Regions from separate parts of the Homo sapiens genome. Here region 1 is linked to region 2. Evidence: promoter capture Hi-C in 16 types of primary human blood cells and fetal thymus (Javierre and others, 2016). All regions are on one chromosome and are shown on one strand. The core of a region is centred on a gene start or on the middle of the fragment in contact, and the rest is flanking DNA. Distances in the headings are between cores, read along the strand shown. Region 1 has its middle 53 kb from the start of ZC3H8. Region 2 holds the start of ZC3H8 (zinc finger CCCH-type containing 8).

Evidence for each region. Contacts are between HindIII fragments. The CHiCAGO score rates a contact against its expected background, and 5 or more counts as called.
Region 1: a contact is called between a fragment that was not itself captured here and the fragment with the promoter of ZC3H8 in region 2, in 2 of 17 cell types (non-activated CD4 T cells and activated CD4 T cells). The highest score is 6.1, in non-activated CD4 T cells.

What each region holds. Positions count from the first base shown.
Region 1 is chr2:112,198,196-112,205,168 of GRCh38, reverse strand. It overlaps a transcript of FBLN7 not described here. Among named protein-coding and RNA genes, the nearest start is that of ZC3H8, 53 kb to the left of the region's middle. The HindIII fragment of the contact is 1,801 bases long and covers 3,102-4,902 here.
Region 2 is chr2:112,253,043-112,260,089 of GRCh38, reverse strand. It overlaps ZC3H8 (zinc finger CCCH-type containing 8), which reads left to right and starts at 5,048. Exons shown (of 9, transcript NM_032494.3): 1 at 5,048-5,182. The coding sequence starts at 5,109. RefSeq lists a cis regulatory region at 3,064-3,315 and a silencer at 4,866-5,075. The HindIII fragment of the contact is 1,301 bases long and covers 4,867-6,167 here.

The DNA.
Region 1 (6,973 bases), core at 2,753-5,252, 54 kb after region 2:
TAATGATTGCCCCAGGGATTATAATTAACAATGTAAAACAATCTAGTTCAGATTGACACCAATTTAATTTCTATAGTAGACAGTGAAAACCTGTTCCAATATGGCTTTTTTCCCTTTTCCCTCTTTTGTACTATTTTATTTATACCAATTAAATTTGTATACATTATAAACTCATCAACACAGTTGTATAATTGTTGCTTTATGCAGTTGTCATTTAAATAAGGTAAAATTTAACAGTGTCATAAACAAAAAATATATTTATATTGTCTTTTATATTTACTTACATAATTTCCTTTATTGGTGTTATTTCTTTGTGTGAATACAAGTTACTCTCGAGTGTTCTTTTGTATCAGCCTAAAGGACTCCCTTTAATATTTCTTATGTGGTATGTGTGCTAACAATACATTTTCTCCATTTTTCTGTATTTGAGAATGCCTAAGTTTCTGTTTTCTTGAAGAAGAGTTTGGCTGATATCGAATTCTTGGTCAACAGCTTTTTTTCTTTGATCTCTTTGAATATGTCCTCCCACTGTCTTCTGGCTTCCATAGTTTCTGATGAGAAGTGACCTGTTACTCTTATTGAAGCTCCCTTATACTTGAAGTCTTTTCTCTTACTAGTTTAAAAATTCTTTTTGACTTTCAACAGTTTGACCATGATGGGTCTAAGTGTGGATCTTTTTGTCTTTATCCTGCTTGGAATTCTTTTAGCTTCTCGGATGTGCATATTAGTGTTTTTCATCAGATTTGGGGAGTTTCCTGCCTTATTTATTCAAATACCCTTTCTTTCTTTTCTTACTATCTTCTCCTTCTGAGATGCTTATTATACATATATTGATATGCTTGATGGTGACCTCACAAATATCTAAGGCTCAGATAGTTTTTCTTTTTTTTTTTTTGTTCCTCAAGCTGGATAATATCAATGACCTATGTTTAAATTCACCGATTCTTTCTTCTGCCTGCTCAAATTGTCTCTTGGCCTTCTTGTGAATTTGTTATTTCAGCCTTATACTTTTCAACTTAATATTTCTATTTGTTTTTTTAAAAAGTTTCTATCTCTTTATTGATATTCTCTATTTGATGAGACAACCTCCTTTAGACATGGTTTTCTTTACTTTTTTTGAAAATATTTATAATAGCTGATTTAAAGTCTTTCTCTAGTAAGCTGATATGGTTTGGCTGTGTCCTCACCCAAATCTCATCTTAAATTGTACTCCCACAATTCCCACATTTTGTGGGAGGGAGCTGGTGGGAGATAATTTGAATCATGGGGGCAGTTTCCCCCATACTGTTCTCGTGGTAGTGAATAAGTCTCATGAGATCTGATGGTTTTATCAGGGGTTTTTGCTTTTGCATCTTCCTCATTTTCTCTTGCCACTGCCATGTAAGAAGTGCCTTTTGCCTCCTGCCATGATTCTGAGGCCTCCCCAGCCATGTGGAACTGTAAGTCCAATTAAACATCTTTTTCTTCCCAGTCTCAGGTATGTCCTTATCAGCAGCATGAAAACGGACTAATACATAAGTTCTGAGCTTCCTTAGGGATAGTGTGTATTGACTGTTTATGCATGGGAGCATACTTCTTTGGGCCCCCTTTTTTTGGTAAGTTCATAATATTTTATTGAAAATTGGACATTTTAAACAATATAATTTGTCAACTTTGTAAATCATACTACTCCATCCAGGGTTTGCTTGTTTCTGCTTATTGTCATTGCTGTTTGTTTAGTGTTTTTCCTGGACTAAGTGTGTAAAGTTTGTATTTTTTTATTCTGTATGGCTATTGAAGTCAGCGCTTAGTTAGCTTAATAGACAGCCCTTGATTGGGCAGAGATTTTCTCAAATACCTTGAACATATGAGTCTTCCAGTCTTCATAGAGGAACTCTGTGTGTGAGTTGGGACATACCTTCAATATTCTGGCTGAGAATTTACAACTCTGCCTTAGGCTTTACTTCCTGCATGAGAAGTACCTCAAGCTGGCCTGAGATAAGAACTTAGGACCCTTTCAGGTCTTTCTTGGGCATGTTCTCATCCCTGCACATGCATGGTTTTCTAGATTCCCAGGGATGTGTCAGAGCTTTTCAAAGCCCCCTGTAGATATTTCATTTCCCAGTTTTTTTGTTTTTTTGTTTGTTTGTTTTTGTTTTTTGCTCAGCCTCTTGTTGGCTCTGGAGGTAACAACACCTCCAGTTGCAATATTAAACAATTGCTACTGATTGTTTTTGACAAATGGTAAGGCTGTTCACACAGAGTGAGCTCTTGAGTCTAAGCCCTGAGAAGGTAGCTTTTCAGTAAGCTGTGAGATCAAATAGTGAATTTTAGTGGGGGGTGGAGTTTTTGAGAAGCTCCCAACTTGTTCTACTCACTCCAGTGACTAGTAGGTACTAGTTTTCATAGCTGTTAAGGTTGCAGGGCTTTCAGTCTTCAAGGCTCATACTGTGGAGCTGGGGAGAGGAGAATGACATTAGAGAAGTTAAAATGCCACAGGCATTTCACCAAGATTCAGCTGTTTTGCTTGAATAAATTCTCTTCAAATTGTTGCTAGCCTTCAGTTAATTTCCAGATTCTGAAAAAGTTGATTTTTGACTGTTTTGGCAGTGTTTTTATGTCTTTCATAGAGGAGTGGATTTTTGAAGATTTTTACTCTGCTGTTCCAGAGGTAGAAACCTTAACTCACTTTTAAGTGTGGTTTGACATCACAATACCTTTTAAAAAAACCCTGCACTTAAAAATATATATATTTCTAAATATATTTCATATCTATATATGTAATATATAAATAGAAGTGTATATATAAATAGAACTATATACGTATTTATGACTGGTATGAAAATTGAACATGTCGTCTTCTAGTACTTTTATTTCAAAATCACCTTTCCTTGCCTGGCATGTCCAGAGACTCATCTTCCTGGGGAACGCAATTGCACTCAGAGGAATGAGACAGTAAACAATTAACAGATAAAGTGCACATGACTGTTAGCAGGAAGCTCCTAGTTCATAAGAATTTGGGACCTTTACTCCATGCTCCAAATTTTTAAACTACCTTTTTAAGAGATTCCACAGAAGTAGTCTTATTTACCATTCCCATAAGTCTTAAATATATACAAGCTTTGTATCCCAGCTGTATCCTACATAAAAATACTCCAAATTTATTTGCCTGGATGTGTTGCTTGGCAGGTATATTTGTTACATAATAATATAAACTAGACTTTAATCTTGGACTTCCTGAATGAATTTGTGATTCAGCCTCATATCTGCTGACACACCAGCTCTTTTCAGCCTTCCATATGCCCACAGACTGTAAGCCAATTTAAACTTCCTCATGTAGCTGAACTCAGTTAGGTAAACCTGGAATCAACAGAAATGCTCCTTATTTCAGCCAAATGCACATAAAACAGTCATTTCAGTCCATGAAGGAGGAAAGCCTGGTTGCTGTGAATTCCTTATTATCTCAGAGACTGAATGCCTGTCCTTGTGTAGCTGTGAAGGATTCTATGTTCTCCCTAAGTTGGGGAGATGATGTGAGTGGCCCCTCAGGAAACAGAAACCTGCCCAACCTCCCCTGGCTCCTGCCACTCTGGACTGCCTGCAGTTCTGGAGGGCTGTGTTCTTTGGGATGTGTCCTACACCTACATCTGAACCAGGGGAGGAAAAAAAAAGAAGGGAAAAATGCCCTTGACTTTTCAAATAAGATGTGCAGGCCTTCTGCCAAGGAGCTGGAACGGCAAGGCAGGGAACAGGGTACCCTGGAACAAATGCGAGACCTGAGAGATCTTCACCTGGGAAGACACTGCTGGGGCCCACGGCCTTTGTTCTGTTAAATCTTGGCAAGGACCTGTGACAAGGCTGTGGTGTGGGAGCTGCACGATGGTCCGTGAAACAGGCCTTCCGGGCCCACCCATGAATGAGCAAGTGTCTGTTGTTCAGAACTCTCCAGGTCAAATCACAGGATTTGTAAAGAGATTCAGGACAGCAGTCACTGGGCCCTGCCTCCTGCCTCAGAGGCCTCACTCACATTTCCTCTGTTGTCAGAGGCAGCCTTAGTGAACCAGGCAAGGGTACATCTCGCTTTCCACCCTCCTTTGATCTCAGCAACCCTCACACTCCTTGTCTCAAATTGTCCTCCCTGACATTCTGGAAGCTGTGGAAGGGCATTTAGTGTACCTGCCCCATCCAAAGCTGTATTCTCTGCAAGGATCAAGCACATAAAAGGCACTTGCTCAATATTCATCATTGACATTTAAACATTTAAATGGGTGCTGCTTTTTTCCATCCAACAATATGAAAAATGGTGACCTTTAAGTGAAAGAGAATAAATAGGATTTTAAAAAACATTTAGGCTGGGTGTGGTGGCTCACACCTGTAACGCCTGTAATCCCAGTACTTTGGGAGGCTGAAGCAGGTGGATCACCTGAGCTCAGGAGTTCGAGACCAGCCTGGCCAACATGACGAAACCCCACCTCTACTAAAAATGCAAAAATTAGCCGGGTGGTGGTGCACCTGTAATCCCAGCCACTTGTGAGGCTGAGGCAGGAGAATAGCTTGAATCTGGGAGGCAGAGGTGGCAGTGAGCCGAGATTGTGCGACTGCACTCCAGACTGGGGGACAGAGCGAGACTATGTCTAAAAACAAAATAAAACAAAAAACAAACAAAAAAAACCATTTACGCCTTATCCATGAAACAACATAGATGGAGGTGATGTGTCCTTCTGCTCAGGTAATTCGAGAATTCCCCAGACAAAGGCAGAAATGAAGGAGAATGGCCAAGTATGTAGCTAGTGATTCCCTATGCATAAGCCAGCTGCATACATGCCACCCCTTATGTGACATTCCCACGAACATCTGAGGTGTCCCCCATGGCTCTGCACAGTTCCTCCTGGGCAAGCCATACTCCTTTGTTATTTCCAAGCTTGAGAATCTTAATTAGTACTAGCCACCAATTACCTAATACACACTTCACAGCTGATCACCACACTCCAGTGGATCAGGGATTGCAGTTGAGAGCACTGGTTGCTTGAGTTGGGAGTTGATGTCTCTCAGTCAAAGACCACCAGGAACCCACATATAGTCAACAAAGTCAGGTTTACTATTTGCTGCAGCAAAAGAGGTTGCATATGGGGGGTGTCTTTGTCTGTTTTCTGTTGCTATAACAGAATACCACAGACTGGGTAACTTATAAAGAAAATGTTTAGCTCATGGTTCTGGAGGCTGGGAAGTTCAAGAGCATGGAACTGGCATCTTGTGAGGCCTTCTTGCTGCATCATACCACGGTGAAGGGCATTACATGGTGAGAGGGCAACAGCAGGAGAGCCAGAGAGAGCTCGCTTCTATAATAAAGCCCTTCCCTCAATAACGAACCCACTCCTGTGATAGTGACATTAATCCATTTATGACCACACAGGCCTCATTAACCCATTAATCCATTCATGAGGGCAGAGCTAACACTAATTCATTCATGAGGGCAGAGGGATTAATTTTCCAACACATGAACATTTGGGGGCACATTCAAACCATAGCAGAGAGGAACTGAGGAACATCTTAACAGGAGGGAATTGGGGACAGACAGGGCATTTGAGACCAGAGAAAGTCATAGGATGATCCTGGAAGGGATGGGTGAGATTTTGTAAACTAGAGAGTTTCTGGAAGAGTCAGTACTCTTGTCTGGCTGTGTGAGTGAGTGGGTGTTAGGAGAGTTTATGCTTAGATGATTTGTGACATTCATGTTCTGAATGGGTGCCATTTATGGGTTAGCTCTAGAGCAGCAATGTTGAAAAGTTGTGGCTTGTTTCAACTCTCAGTTCTCCCTGACAGCCTTGCTGCCAATAGAGCAATTTTTCACTCCGTCACTGGAAAAGTGACGATGAGAGAAATGAGAGAAATGGACACCAGGAAATGACTCTGCCCACCGTACAACTGTCTGTCACCATGCAAAGAGGGAGAGTTGCATGCAGGGATGCTAAAGGAGAAAAGACACCCTGGGCAATTTCTCAGGGGGACCGCCTTGACCTGGGAGGCATTTCTATGGAATTCCTGTCCATTTGTCTTTTGACTCACTTTTGATCTTGATTATAATTTTTTCCCTTCTGTTTGTCCAAGAGGAAAAGGAAATGTGGGTCATGCATCCTGGTTCCTAGGGCAGAGCCTGGCTTTAATTAGCATGCAGATGGAACCCACATAGTCCTTCACTTGCTCTGTAATGTCACCTGAAGTTAATAAAAGCAGAGATTCCAATTAGTTAGCCTGACTCACTGGTAGACTATAGTGGAGGGAGGCTTCCCTGGCTTTACTGAGGGTGTATCTTAGTGCATTCAGGTTGCTATAATAAACTACCTTAGGCTGGGTGACTAATAAACAACAAAAATTTATTTCTCACAGTTCTGGAGGTTGGAAAGTCCAGGATCAAGGTTCCAGCAGGTTTGGTGTCTGGTGAGGACCTGTTTCATGACCCATAAATGGTGCCTTTTTACTGTGTCCTCACATGATGAAAGGTAGCAGACACACTCTGGGTTTCTTTCTTTCTTTCTTTCTTTCTTTCTTTTTTTTTGAGACAATCTCACTCTGTCACCCAGGCTGGAGTTAGTGCTGCAATCTCGGCTCACTGCAACCTCTGTCTCCCAGGTTCAAGCGATTCTCCTCCCTCAGCCTCCCAAGTAGTGGGATTACAGGTGTCTACCAATACACCTGGCTAATTTTTGTATTTTTAGTAGAGACGGGGGTTTCACCATGTTGGCCGGGCTGGTCTTGAACTCCTGACCTCAAGCAATCTGCCCACCTTGGCCTCCCAAAGTGCTGGGATTATAGGCATGAGCCACCGCACTCAGCCTCTGGGTTTCTTTTATAAGGACACTAATCCCATTTATGTGAGCTCCGCTTTTATAAACTAATCACCTCCCAAAAGCCCTACTTGGTAACACCATCACCTTGGAGATGAGGTTTCAATGTATTAATTTAGGTGGTTGGGGGAGACATAAACATCCAGACC
Region 2 (7,047 bases), core at 3,799-6,298:
GTGCCCTCCTGATAACAGGTGGATAACCCAAACCTTCATGCCTGAAGGGTTTGGGGCACTTTCAGTGCTGCCTGTGGTGGTGGTGTTTTCTATTAACTTTAATCATAGAGCATAGGATTACTTAGTCTCCCGCCCAGGAAATCAGCTGCATCCTAGACATACTCTTCCTTAACATCATTATGTAGTCAGGATAACTTGATAGTTAGGATTAATCACCCCTGCCAATACAGTAAGCCCCTTCTTTACCTGTTAATTCACTGGCATGAGGATCCTAAGGTGGCCAAACGGCAGTCTCAACCTCAAGTTTAATGGACTCATTGTCACGCCCCTTGATGCAAACATTCCTACTTTTGGGATTAACGCTACACCGGTGGTTCTCAAGTGAGGACGATTTTGCTCCCCGCAGAGGACATTTGGCAATGTCTGGAGACATTTTGGGTTGCCACAACTGGGGAACAGCTGCTACTGACACCTAGCGGCAGAGGCCAGGGATGCTGCCAAGCTTCCTACAATGCGCAAGACCGTCCCCAATTATCCAGGCCGAAATGACAATAATGTTACGGTTGAAAAAGTCTGCTCTAAACCAGCAGAGCCCAAAGTTGTGGAGATAGGCAGCAAACATTATTCTAGGGCATCACTAGGAATAATACAGAGAGGACCTACTCCCACTTGGAAGCCTTGATTCCCAGACCCTGTGTATACTGGCTATGGGAGAAACAGCACCATGTATTGGTGATTGTTGATTTATAGCACATACTCATAAGGTATTATATCTAGCTCATACTGGAGCTGAGTTATCACAGGCCATTTCACCATTTTAACATGCCAACTGCTTTATTTTATTTTGGTAAAAGAAATATAAAATTTGCCATTTCAACTTTTTTTTTTTTTTGAGACGGAGTCTCACTCTGTTGCCCAGGCTGGAGCGCAATGGCACCATCTCGGCTCACTACAACCTCTGCCTCTCGGGTTTCAGCGATTCTCCTGCCTCAGCCTCCCGAGTAGCTGGGATTACAGGTGCCCGCCACCACGCCTGGCTAATTTTTGGATTGTTAGTAGAGACGGGGTTTCACCATGTTGGTCAGGCTGGTCTCAAACTCCTGACCTCAGATGATCCACCTGCCTTGGCCTCCCAAAGTGCTGGGATTACAGGAGTGAGCAACTGTGTCTGACCAGCCATTTTTAAGCATATAATTCATTGGCATTAGTTACATTCACATTGTTGTGCAACCATCACCATTATGTATTTCCAAACTTTCCCATCACCTCAAGCAGAAATTCTGTCACTTTTAAGCAACAATTCCGTTTCACCCTCTCTCAGTCCCTGGTAACCTCTAATCTACTGTCTGTCTCTATACAATTCCCTATTGTAGATATTTCACGTAAGTGGAATCATACAATATTTGTCCTTTTGTGCCTGGCTTATTTAACTTAGCATACAGTTTTCAAAGTTCAGCTAGTATACAAAATTCAGTTCTGACAGCATGTATCAGAGCATCATTCCTTTTTATGGATAAATAATATCCTATGTGTATATCACATTTTATCCATTAATCAGTGGATGGACACTCGGTTTGTTTCTACCTTTTGGCTATTGTGAATAATGCTGCAATTAACATGAATGTACAAATATATGTTTCAGTCCCTGTTTTCAATTCCTTTGGGTATATACCTAGGAGTGGAATTGCTGGGTCATATGATAATTTTATGTTTAGGCCATCTGCTTTATAATAATAGGGAATTTCACTTTTCTATTGCTATAGAGGACAGCAAATTGGCCTAAAACTTTGTGGTTAAAAAAACAAACATTGATCTTCTTTATTATTATTATTATTTTTTGAGATGAAGTTTTGCTCTTCTTGCCCAGGCTGGAGTGCAATGGCGCGATCTCGGCTTACTGCAAACTCCGCCTCCTGGGTTCAAGCGATTCTCGTGCCTCAGCCTCCCAAGTAACTGGGACTACAGGCATGCGCCACCACACCCAGCTAATTTTGTATTTTTAGTAGAGACGGGGTTTCACCATGTTGGCCAGGCTGGTCTCAACCTCCTGACTTGAGGTGATCCACCTGCCTCAGACTCCCAAAGTGCTGGGATTACAGGCGTGAGCCACCACACCTGGCCCAACATTGATCTTCTTATATCCTCTGTGGGTCACGAATCTGCGAGCTGCTTAGCTGGGTGGTTCTGTCCCACAGTTTCTCACGGGATTGCTGTCGAGATGTCTTCTGGCTTGCTTAGTGCTGGGAGATCTGTTTCCAAGGTACCTCACCCACATGGCTGGCTCTCCACAGGCTGCCTGAGTGATTCATGACATGGTGACTGACTTCCCTTCATGCAGATGATTCAAGAGAATAAGGCAGAAACTACAATGTCTTCTTATGACCTCAGAAATCATGCATCATCACTTTTGCCACATTGTATTTGTTAGAAATAAATAAGTAAATCCTATCCACATTAAAGAAGAGGGGACTAAATCTCCAACTTTTGCAGGGAGAAGTGTTAAGGAATTTTTGAACACATTTTAATATGACCACACCATCCACTGATTTTTTTTTTTTTTTTTTGAGATGGAGTCTCACTCTGTCTCCCAGGCTGGAGTGCAGTGGCGCAATTTCAGCTCACTGCAACCTCCGCCTCCCGGGTTCAAGCGATTCTCCTGCCTCAGACTCCTGAGTAGCTGGGACTACAGGCGTGCGCCAACCCGCCCAGCTAATTTTTGTATTTTTATTAGAGACAGGGTTTCACCATTTTGGCAGGATGGTCTCTATCTCTTGACCTTGTGATCCACCGGCCTTGGCCTCCCAAAGTGCTGGGATTACAGGTGTGAGCCACCACGCCCAGCCCCATCCACTGATTTTTAAAAATTTCAGTATTATATTTTTTATTTCTAGAAGTTCTACTTGGTTACTTCTCCCCAATTTCTCTATGACACTTTTTATAGTTTCTTTTTTATTAGTTAGATATTACTATGTAGTAAACTACTTAAAAACTTAGTGGCTTAAAACAAGGACCATTTATTTATGTGGGTTAGTAATTTGGACTGGGATCATCTGAGAGTCTTTGGTTCTCTGCAGGACTCCATCATGTGTGTGCTCAGCTGTATGTTGCCTAGGAGGCTTTGCTTTTAGGGTTTTGCTAGCTGTTGACTGGGTGTTTTCGCTGTCCTCCATTAGCCTTATCTTCTACATGCCTCTCCCTTATCGTCAGCAGGGTAGCCTGAGTTTATTGTCCTGAAGAAGGCAGGCATATAAGAGACAGCAGACACATACAAAGCCTCTTGGGGCCTTGGCTTGGTATTGGCAGGCCACTTCTGCATTCTACTAGCTAAGACAAGTCATTCTATCAGGCAAAATCAACTCAGATTAAAGAGGAGGTGAAATAGATCCTACCTCTTTATGGGAGGAGCTGCAAAGTCACATTGCAAAGGACATGGATACAGGAAAGGTTGGAGAAATTGGGGCCTTTTTTGGCATCAATCTAACACAAACATATGTAGCCTTTTATATAGTCTTTGTCTGAAAATGCTAGTGTCTGATGCCTTTGCAGGTCAGATGTTTTAGCTGCTTTTTACCTACCAATCTAATTTTCATTTGTGTCTGGTTATCTTTTGCTGTATGTTGGATATTTTATATAAAAAAGTGTGTATGGTAACAATTTGGGTTCTATAATAATGCTTCCTGCTAAAGAGGGGGTAATTCTAGTTTTTATCTCCTTAATTCAATTTTTTCTCTGAATTTTTAGTAATGATTCATGTTCCATAGGTGATGGCCTACAATATAAACAACATGGGAAAGTAGAATTTCCCTGGGGAAGATGTCTGGCTTCAAATAGTTCCCTTCACTAATCGGTAAAGGGATCCTGATTCATGCCAAGAATCAAACACTCCCTTCACTTACAGAAGCAAGTCAGGTTCTCTATCACTGGCCCAACCTAGGGTTTGAGCCTTCCTTTCTACAGGTCCCTTAAATGGCATTACATTGAGCAAAACTGAGCAATTTCCTGTTCTGCAACAGCATGCTCTATTTTCCTGCCTTCATACAATTCTCTCTACTTGGAATGCCCACTTCCTCTTTTCCTATGGAAATATCTCAAGACCCAGCTCAAATACTCCCTTCTCAAGAAGCCTTCCCAACTGGATGCAATTTTTTCCCTCTTCTGAATTCTCTTAGTATTTGGTACTTTTTAACGGACTTTTCTGTCTTGAGGTTACTTGTGTATTCATTTTAATTCCCATTCAATTGTAGAGACCCTACAAGTTACATTACCTGACTACACATCTGTTTATTCATTTCAAAACTGTGAATGGTAATAGAACATCTTTTACAGGGCTGTTGTGAGGATTAAGTTAGCTAACATGTGAAACGCTATTTCTAAGGAATAGTAGTGGAGTGCTCAGATAAATGTTAGCTGTTACTACCATCCCTTAGAAATACTGTGATTTTGATGGAAGAGTTTTCACCAAGGTGAAAGCAGAATCCTAACAACTAATTTTAAAAATTCTGGGCTGGGGCCGGGCGCGGTGGCTCACGCCTGTAATCCCAGCACTTTGGAAGGCTGGGGCGGGCGGATCACGAGATCAAGAGATCGAGACCATCCTGGCCAACATGGTGAAATCCCGTCTCTACTAAAAATACAAAAATTAGCTGGGCGTGGTGGCAGACACCTGTAGTCCCAGCTACTCAGGAGGCTGAAGCAGGAGACTTGCTTGAACCCGGGAGGCGGAGGTTGCAGTGAGCCGAGATCACGCCACTGCAGTCCAGCCTGGACGACAGAGCTTGACTCTGTCTTTAAATAAACAAACAAACAAACAAATAAATAAATAAAATAAACAAAATTCTACTATCTGAGGTAAAGGACGAAAAAGCTTACAGAAGGGCAACCACGGCGGCGCCTGCGCAGAGCCGAGGCGAAGGAGGCAGGGAGAGACCCGGCCTGCCCAGAGTCGCGGAGGGCGGTGCAGCGCATGCGCGGGGCAGGTGAGGCTGCGCGGGGCGGAGCCTGTGGCCCTGGCGCGGCTCTGGGTCCGTCTCGTCGCGTCCGGGTTGTCACTCTCTCGGGTTGTTACTCTGTAGCTTCCCGGCTCGCGAAAGGGAGGACCTGTCTGGGTCATGGATTTTGAGAATCTTTTCTCAAAACCCCCCAACCCGGCCCTCGGCAAAACGGCCACGGACTCTGACGAAAGGTGATCCCATATCTTTTCATCTTTTGAATGCAGGGGCTCAGCGGGACTCCGCCTCTTAGTTTCTTCTGGATTGGAGGCAGTCCGGGGCCACGTCCGGGCCGCGTCGCGAGGGCCCGTGGGGAGCACGTGGGCCGGCCGGGCGCCACCGTCTGACCTATAGAGGTCGTGCGGGGTCCGGGTGGGAGCAGAAGCTGAACGCGGGGCTCAGGCTTAGGCCGTCAGGGCCGGGGCTGTCGAGAGCCTGGGCGGGGGAGCGGGGTGGAGGCGAGAAGGCTCCGGGATGCGCCCCTTTCTCTGCACAGCAGCGGGTGAGGAGCCCGCCTCTGTGGTCCCGTAGCGTCTGTCTTTACCGTTGTTGCCTGTTTCCACGAGACCGTAAACTCCCAGAGGACACTGATGTGACCTTTTTCACTGACACCTCCTAGGTTCTTTTCTGTAGAAAGGATGAAACCACAAGTTTATTGAAAGGTAAAGAATAGGCAATACTCTGCCATTAGTCCACTGATTTGCATGGAAAGACCCTAAAGACCACAATAAAGCAACAGACGTCATTTGGACTTAATATTTCCATTAGGTTGGAAAAGCAAGTGAGACTCTTGGTCAGATGGCCCTAATTTGTAGATTATATTTTTGGAGCAGTGTCTAGTGATTTGAAATGCTAAAAACCACCATCTTTGTTCTTAAACCTACGTCTTTTATTTCCCTCAACTGAGATATATTTCCAGTTGTGATTGATTTTACCATTCGATATTGGTCAGCTGTTCACTCTATCTCAAATTTTACCTTAACTGATCATCCAGAGCTTTACCTTGTGCTTTACATGAAATAAATCACTTAATCCTCAAAACAAACTTAAAGAGAAGATGATGCCGTCCTCGTTTTACAGATGGGAAAACTGAGGCACGGAGAGGCTAAATAACCTGCCGAGATTGCACAGTGTAAGTGGAAGAGCTATGTCCAGGATCCATGATTTTATCACCAAGCTTCTCATGCAAAATGACTAAAATTTTAAAATAAGCCCTATAAATATTGGAAAGAGACAGATACACTAATTACTTGCAGATGATATAATTTACTAAGAAAAATAACTGGTACTAATTGATATGTTATAAAATACATAAGAATTCATCACACAAAAAAAAGATAATAGCAACATTTAAAAATCCGAACAGCAGCTATCAGTTTCAAAGTGTGTTGGACACAAGCTCCATTCCCCAAAACTTGACTGCAATACATAAAAGACACTTGGAATTTTGCCAAAATGATGGGTGAAGGATGGTATGGAAGTATGGTGAGCTGTCCATATTATTTGCCCATTTTTCTCCTTTTTGGTCTTTTTCACATTCTAGGATCTCTTATCTGCGAATACTTTACTCCCAATTGTCATTTGTCTTTGCCTATGGCATTATTTTTCAATGTAAAAAGGAATGGGGATGTTGTGGTTTGGTTTTATGCAGTCAGATGAATCAGTCTTTTCTCATATGGTTTCTGGTTTTTTTTCCGAGTAATTTGTGATGGGAATACTTCTCATTCATTCAAAAAATCGTATTGAGCACCTGCTACGGCCTTGGGGATATAGTAGTAAATGAAGAAGAGATGAAAATTTCTGTACTAATGAATTTACATTATTAGGGGAAGGGGGAGACATACATAAATATATCATATTTTAGGTGGTACTAAATGCCCTGAGAAAATGAATGAAGGGTAAGGGGAAAATAAGCACTGGTGGGATGGTAGGGAGGGAGTAGTTTTGTGGGTTTTTTTTTTATTTTTTTGAGCAGAGTCTGGCTCTGTCGCCCAGGCTGGGGTGCAGTGGCGCGATCTCGGCTCACTGCAAGCTCTGCCTTCCGGGTTCACACCATTCT